Linked DNA regions of Homo sapiens: all the other regions are linked to region 3. The links are contacts of gene promoters, found by promoter capture Hi-C in human tissues and cell types (Jung and others, 2019). All regions are on one chromosome and are shown on one strand. Each heading gives the region's core, a stretch centred on a gene start or on the middle of the fragment in contact. The rest is flanking DNA. Distances are from core to core; before and after follow the strand shown. Region 1 has its middle 51 kb from the start of CDKN3. Region 2 has its middle 4.3 kb from the start of FRMD6-AS1. Region 3 holds the start of PSMC6 (proteasome 26S subunit, ATPase 6).

Region 1 (2,700 bases), core at 110-2,609, 1.6 Mb after region 3:
CAGCACCCCTAACCCCTACCCCCCTTAACCCCCACCCCACTGACCACGGCATTCCCCATTTCCTCTCTCACCTTTATTTTTCCTCATGGCACTTATCACTATCTGGTCTACAACATACTACTTTACTTCTTTATTTTCTTTAGATGTCTGTCTCTTCTCACTCCCAGAATGTAAATTTCTTGAGGACAGAGATTTTTGTCTGTTCACTGCTGTATCCCCACTACTTAGAAGAGCCCTGGCATGTAATAAACAGTCAGCAGGTATTTGTTGAATGGATGAATACAATCCAGAGACGGCTCAAGCTAGCACCAAGTGGGCCTTCTGTGGGTGAATAATCACTTACTCCCTGAGATCCACCCAGTGAGAAAGTGCAAAGACCATCTGCTCTTCTACCCACCAACCCAAAGGTGGGTCTCTGACAAGTGCTTGGTCTCCGGGCAAACTCAAGATGGCTGAGACACATCTTTCTCCACCAGAACCACCCTTGGAGAGCCGACTGGTCATCCCTTACAGTAGATGAGATCCAGACTCCCCTCACCTTGTAGGAGGTAGAATGCCCTCCCAACAACACTGCCCTCCTTGCCTTCCAGCCTAGATCCTAGGTGAACTGGACCTGAGCACTGAGTACCTCACCTTGATGGTTATATCAACTTGGCTGGGCCACAGAGCCCAGATATGTGGTCAAACATTATTCTGGATGTTTCTGTGAAAGTGGTTTTGGATGAGATTTACATTAAATGAGTGGACTTTGAGTAAAGCAGAATGCCCTCCATAATATGGGTGGGCCTCATTCAATCAGCTGAAGGCCTAAATGGAACAAAAGACTGACCTTTCCTGAGCAAGTATAAATCCTGCAGCAGACAGCCTTCAGACTTGAACCACAGCACTGGCTCTTCCCAGGTTATCTAGCCTACTGGTCCACCCTGTAAATTTGGGACTTCCAGCTTCTGTAATCACATAAGCCAATTCTTCAAAAATCAATCTCTTTAAATATATATACACATATATATACACACATATATATACATATATATGAATATATATACATATATACACATATATACATATATACACACACATATACATATATACACATATATACATATATACACATATATATACATATATATACACATATATATATATACATATATATACACATATATATATAAAACATATCATGTATTAGTTATATTTCTCCAGAGAACTCTGACTAATACACATGGCTAAGCTGTTGAGATGTAGTTCTCCTGGGAGTCAACCCTCCTGCAGGAAACCAAGTTCTTCCAAGGGCCATCTGCTCTGGAAGCATGAGCTTCCATCTCATGCCTCTTCCTTTCATCCATGCGCAAAGACTTATACAGCCCCCTGGCATTCCCAGGACACCTTGCTGGTCACTTCCCAAACTAAAGGGCAGAAAAGAATCCCATATAACAAAAACTGTTGCTCAGCTGCTATACTAGGAACTCAAGGAAACATTTCTTTGTCTATGATGTCATCGTAAACAATCTTACCAGGAGCAATAATATTCATATGCCGCATGCAAACATCACACCGTCACTTCGTGCTAACACTTGACTGAAGTCTGAGAGGCTGAAGAAAGAGCAGAATAGTTAAGAGCATGAGCCCTGGAGGTCTAACTGCTGGGACTCCAGTCTCCACTCTGCCACAAACTAGCTGAGTAAAATGTGCCAATTCCCTTAACCTCAATTCTCTCATCTTTAAAATGGGATGCAATAATTATACCTATTTCACAGGACTGTAATAAAACCAAGTGGAAAAAATACAAGTGAAGCACATATCCCTGTGCCTGACATACGGCCCATGCTCTGTAAAGGTTACTGGTATTTATTGCTGCAGCAAGAAGCCCAGGCCTTAAAGAGTCTTCTACAAATGCACGCAGTACTCTGAAGAAGGTGATTAAATCAGTTATGACTCTGTGGGTTGCAAGTGAAAAGCAGAAAATCCTTCAAAAGATATAGAGCCCTCAAGAACTCTTGGAGGGCATGCTACCACAGACGAGTCTCTTCCACAGTAGCCCCAGAAGTGGTTGCACCACCACATAGATTGGATCCTATGGTGAAAGGCTGGGCTCACTTTAAGGCTGGGCAGACTGAATTGTGAAGAAACTCTGCGACTTATTCATAGATTGTGAGAATAAATGGTAAACAAGTAAATGAGCAAATACATCCATGCCAGGAAGGAAACAAACAGGGTGCTTTAACATTTAAAAAGAAGTGGGTGTGTCATACCCAGCACAGGCAATTCCATACAGACAAGACGGTAGATGAGTGGATGCCAGAGGCTGGGAGGAATGCGAGGTGGGCCGTGACTTCTTCATGGTATGAGGTTTCTTTTGGGGACAATGGAAATGTTCTGAAGTTAGATAGTGGTGATGGCCGTATAATATTGTGAATATACCGAAAACCATTGAATCGTACACTTTTAAATGGTGAATGTGGTGTTTTGTGAAATCTTATGTGAATTATATCACAATTAAATTTTTAATTAAAAAAGAAAAGCTGGCTGGGGCCGGGCCTATTTTAGATGAGGTAGTCAAAAAAGTTCCCTCCAAGGGGTTTCTATGACCAGAGGACTGAGAAATGGGAAGGAGCCAGCCTTTGGAAGATGCACGGAAGAGCTCACTGTGCAGATGGAAGAGCAAATGCAGATGCCACAGAGTGTGCCCCGCTTGGCAAG
Region 2 (2,700 bases), core at 119-2,618, 1.1 Mb before region 3:
CAGCACTTTGGGAGGCCCAGGCAGGTGGATCATGAGGTCAGGAGATCGACACAATCCTGGCTAACACAGCGAAACCCCGTCTCTACTAAAAATACAGAAAATTTGCTGGGGGTGGTGGCACGCGCCTGTAGTCTCGGCTACTCGGGAGGCTGAGGCAGGAGAAACGCTTGAACCCAGGAGGCAGAGGTTGCAATGAGCCGAGATCGCGCCACTGCACTCCAGCCTGGGCGACACAGCGAGACTCCATATCCAAAAAAAAAAAAAAAAAAAAAAAACCCACTGAAGAGAACCTCAGTGGCCCAAGACCTCCATAATGTTATCACTAGTGTTTCAAAGGAATCCTCTGAGAATATTATCTCAGATAATCAGAGCGTGCCTGAGACATAAGTCAAAGAGTAACCAGTCTGTCACCAGATAGATTGCTGCTTCCTTTCTTCTTGCGTATCCTAATGGGAGTGGAGGGAATTGCCTCCCAACTCTGGGGTAAGCTTTTTTTTCCCCCAGGTTTTCAGTGAGTGATCAAAGAATCAGAGCTGCAAAACTACTCTGGAACCTTTAAGACCCATTGTATATCACACAAACAGAATACATGAGTTAAGTTTCATACTGTAGGGAATCCACCCTTTGTCCTGCCCTTCTGCTTGACATTTTTCTGTACTAGAGCTCTTCTATCTTCAGTCTTCTGTATAAGGTAAAGTCTCATGCATAAGGCAGCAATCCCATGTTTATACATAATTCCTCAACTATATTTTAGTTAGTAGCAGTATCCCTTAACCTAGCACTGCCTTGCCGCTATGCCTTTCAACTCCAAGACGCCAGTGTAATTCTCTACGATGGGCCCTCTCTCTACATTGTGCAACACCTTCCCAAGAGCAAGGGGCAGGGTCTGGCCCTTCCAGCCTTATCAAACCTTTCTTATTACATCTGGAGTATTCTAGTATTCAAGCCCTCAAGGAATGGGAATTGTGATGTTTGTGGTGAAATTAAAGCCATAATAGAATGGAAACAAAGTAGTTCTTTAAATACATCCCCTGTAAACCATATTAAAATGAAACTTTGACCCTGGATAATCAAGTTATTCTACTTTTACATATTTTTTTTTCAAAATTTGATGATCAGGAGAATAGAATTTAATGAATTTAATTTTTTCAACTCTGTATTTCTATAAATTGGGTAAAAGTAAATCTTCTTGAGTTAGATTGCTACATAAGCCCCGTGCTATGCTGCCTCTGAAAAATAATTATGCGTATTCCTGGTTAGGGGCTCCCGGTGTATGGTAATTAGACAGCTGGGTTAAATGAATGATAATCAATTTTCCTGACTTTTCTTAAGCATTAAAGTCTCTTTGGGTACTTTATTTTACTAGCTGAGAATAATAAAAAGAGCATTTTAAATGTTAGGCAGTGAAAATCAGGACCATAACACTAAACTATTTAAGTTTCCATGTGAGATTATTTTCTTTCATTAGCTACAGGGACATCTAAAACCTTAAAGTAGGACTTAATTAAATTTATTTTGTTTGTTTAAAGTACTTTTTGTTTTGCTTTTAAAATGAATCTCAGTAATTACCAAAAAGAAAAATGAACTTAATTTCTTTATTATGACCTTCAGCCAGAATGATGAACGGTATTTAATTCTGGAAAAGTATTCTTTAAAAGCCAGTATGTTAAATCACTGACTTCTCTCTTAGACTAGAACTTACATATCAGCATTAAAACATACTCTGAATGCTGGATAGCCCTGATTTATTATTATTATTAATTAATTAATTTATTGAGATGGAGTTTTGCTCTTGTTGCCTAGGCTGGAGTGCAATGGCGCGATCTTAGTTCACTGCAACCTCCGCCTCCCAGGTTCAAGCGATTTTCCTGCCTCAGCCTCCTGAGTAGCTGGGATTACCGGCATGTGCCACCATGCCTGGCTAACTTTGTATTTTTAGTAGAGATGGGGTTTCTCCATGTTGGTCAGGCTGGTCTCGAACTCCTGACCTCAGGTGATTTGCCCACCTCCGTCTCCCAAAGTGCTGGGATTACAGGCATGAGCCACCGCGCCCAGCCAATAAGCCTGAATTATACAAAAGATAAAAATAATTTTTTTTCTTCTAATATGCTAATCTTAATTGTCAACATACTATCCTGGTGTCTAGAAAATACCTGTAAAGGAATGTGAATTACAGCAGTTCTTATCTCATTTTCTATATTACTGTGTTCTTTACACCAAAATGTACAAATACCACCTACCAAAGTTTACACCTCTCAAAATAAGGCTATGGCCATCATGCTTTAAAAGCATGGCTCTGTGTGCTTGTTCACTCTGTGTCCTCTGCCATATGCCTACACTTAAAATAACCTGGGGATATTTAAAACATTCCAAAGCCCAAGCCATACCACAGACCAATTAAATTATATGCCTGAGACACAGGCATCAATAGTTTTTGAAAGTTTCTAGGTAATTCCAACGTGCTTGCAAGTTTGAGAGCACTGTCTCAACCAACTTGTTCTCAGGCAAACTTCTGTTTATCCTTCCCTTCTCAGTTCACAGGGGATGTTTGATGCTCTCCCTCCCTAGGCCTTCTCACTATTCTTCCTGCGTATCTCTACCATAGCATGAACTAACTATGTTGTAACTGTTAACTCACGTGTCTGTTCCCCTAATCTACTATAAGATTAAGGAGTATTTTTATTTTTGAATCTCTGAATC
Region 3 (2,700 bases), core at 52-2,551:
TGGCGGGCGCCTGTAATCCCAGCTTCTCAGGAGGGTGAGGCACGACAATCGCTTGAACCCGGGAGGCAGAGGTTGCAGTGAGCCAAGATCGCACCACTACACTGCAGCCTGGGTGACAGAGTGAGACACAGACTCAAAAAAAAAAAAAAAAAAAAAAAAATCTGGCCGGGCGCAGTGCCTCACACCTGTAATCCTAGCACTTTGGGAGGCTGAGGAGGGTGGATCACCTGAAGTCAGCAGTTCGAGACCAGCATGGCCAACATGGCGAAACCCCGTCTCTACTAAAAATACAAAAATTAGCCGGTTGTGGTGGCGCACACCTGTAATGCCAGCTACTCCGGAGGCTGAGGAAGGAGAATTGCTTGAACCCGGGAGGTGGAGGTTGCAGTGAGCTGAGATCGCGTCACCGCTCCAGCCTGTGCGGCAGGAGCAAGACTCCATCTCAAAAGTAAATAAATAAATACATAAATCTGAAGGTTCTATCAGACTTCAAAGTTCCTGCCTCAGCCTACTTCAGCATCTTTATCTTGTACCCCACATCTCTACAACCCACCCCCTACTGGTCTCATTGGCCTCCTTTCTGTTCCTGGAAGTGAGTCAAGCTTTCTACCCACAACCCCCACCCCACTCCACTCCAGGACTTGCACTGTTTGTTTAGGTTTTCTTCAGTTGTTGCAAGGCTGGCTCCTTCTCATCTCAGATATCTGTTCTAGATTAATTCTTCCCACCATACTTCTCACCGTGTTTTAATTCCTTCACAGTATTTGTTAAACTCTGAAGTTTTTTTTATTATTATTTCCTATCAAATGATAAGCAGATCTACCTTTAATACCTCATTCACTGACTGAATGGATGAATAAAACTGTCTACTTCTCCAGCACGTGGAGGTCTTGGACAGTACTGTGTTATAACAAAGGCCATCTGTGTTGTGTCGACAGGCCATCGGAACTCCTTTGAGGTATTACACATTTCCTACTTCACTTCCATCTCAGTTTATTACAGAGCCTTTTATACTTCCGGGACAGCAGTGACTTAATACTGAGGCCTCTCAGGGGAAGACCGGGATAACTGAGTCCTGCTTTACCTATCTCGGCTTGCAAGAAACGGTATAGGTGGAGGCCTCTTTCAGTGTATGCCGGCGCTCTAGGTGAACCGAGACATAGAGGTGGAAGTGGAGTAGAAAGACGGGGCCAACCGGAAGGGGAGGGCTCATGGGCGAACCCACCCCTCCAGGCAGGGTTTCGCCCCTCGCCCCGCCCCTTCCCCCGCCCGGACGGCCATGGCCATTCCCGGCATCCCCTATGAGAGACGGCTTCTCATCATGGCGGACCCTAGAGATAAGGCGCTTCAGGACTACCGCAAGAAGTTGCTTGAACACAAGGAGATCGACGGCCGTCTTAAGGAGTGTGAGTGCACCTTTCTTTCCATTTAATCAAGTGCCTCGACTCGCTTCTGCCTCTGACAAAGCAGAAGCCTTTCGCCGAGCCCGGCAACCGAGCCTTAGAGATGACCAGGCCTAGGGCCAGGGACAAGGCGCTTTGTCATCCGGCCCTGAGCTTGTGGAGCAGCACTCCTTCGGGTGTAGAAATGGCCCAGTCCAGCCCGGGTGACAGAACATCGGCGGCCTTGAGGTGAAAATGAAAAAGAAGTAGAGGAGGAGTGGGGAAGTGGGCCGAGGATGTTTCCCAGGTTAGGGTGCAAGAAGGGCAGTCTTGGTGGAGTCCCGGGACTTGGAGAGGGGAAGGCGCTTGAGTCAAGTAAGCTCAAACAAGAGATGAGACTCAGGGAGTCGGCTTGTTCTTGGAGTCGAAAGACGGCCGCGGAGCTTAAGAGAGAAGTGTTCCAGTTGTCATAATAACCCATATCGTCTTGTGTTTCGTGTTGTACTGTATCAGGCATACAAATTTCCCTTACCTCCTGAGTGCTTAACTTTTTTTTCCAGTGCATTTTCATTGAAAAGCATGAGTAGTTTAATTAAATGGAGGACCATAATTACATGATTCTGTGGAGAACTGCATTTGTTGACTTTATTTAGGGTAGAATGTCAGAGAACAATCCACGTGGGTAGGTGAAGAGGTGAGGAAGGGTCTAAGTGATTATCATTCGGATTTGTAGTCGCAAATCCTAAGTGTCAGGGTGTCAATATCTTCTAAGACTATAACTTAAGATGTGCTTAAACAAGTATTGCCGATCAACAAAGTAAAAGTATGGTGCTTTCTCTGTAACATTTTGTTGTTATACATGCCACCTACTCATTACAAACAGCATTATTTCTTTTATGGTTTGAAACAGTGGATGTGAAACTTAGGTAAAGTGAAGTAGACTTACGTAAACAGTAAAGTGAGACGTAGCGACTTAAACACACTAAGATTACTGTTCAATTAAAAATGTTCAAATTGTATTATTTCAGTAAGGGAACAATTAAAAGAACTTACCAAGCAGTATGAAAAGTCTGAAAATGATCTGAAGGCCCTACAGAGTGTTGGGCAGGTAGGTGATGGAGTTTGGGGAATAGGGGGTGATGGTAATTTGCTTTTTTATTTAGCTGTTGCCAAAAAGTAATGCTTTTTATTTTCTTCCTTAGATCGTGGGTGAAGTGCTTAAACAGTTAACTGAAGAAAAATGTGAGTGATGAATTAGCTTATTAATTAGTAAAGAAACAGTCCACCTCTCTCTCACTTTTGAAATGCTTATTATTTT

The links. The method cuts DNA at HindIII sites, captures the fragments that hold promoters and counts their contacts. A contact is called where the count stands out against the background at its distance.
Region 1: a fragment that was not itself captured here is called in contact with the fragment with the promoter of PSMC6 in region 3 in 1 of the 25 tissues and cell types used here (dorsolateral prefrontal cortex).
Region 2: a contact is called between a fragment that was not itself captured here and the fragment with the promoter of PSMC6 in region 3, in 1 of the 25 tissues and cell types used here (aorta).

Annotation. Positions count from the first base shown.
Region 1 is chr14:54,344,973-54,347,672 of GRCh38, forward strand. No RefSeq gene overlaps it. Among named protein-coding and RNA genes, the nearest start is that of CDKN3, 51 kb to the right of the region's middle. The HindIII fragment of the contact is 4,115 bases long and covers 1-2,700 here.
Region 2 is chr14:51,646,068-51,648,767 of GRCh38, forward strand. It overlaps a transcript of FRMD6 not described here. Among named protein-coding and RNA genes, the nearest start is that of FRMD6-AS1, 4.3 kb to the right of the region's middle. The HindIII fragment of the contact is 6,050 bases long and covers 1-2,700 here.
Region 3 is chr14:52,705,899-52,708,598 of GRCh38, forward strand. PSMC6 (proteasome 26S subunit, ATPase 6) reads left to right here and starts at 1,302. Exons shown (of 14, transcript NM_002806.5): 1 at 1,302-1,406; 2 at 2,411-2,490; 3 at 2,585-2,624. The coding sequence starts at 1,322. RefSeq lists enhancers at 853-962, 983-1,042, 1,343-1,592, 1,613-1,662. The HindIII fragment of the contact is 7,628 bases long and covers 1-2,700 here.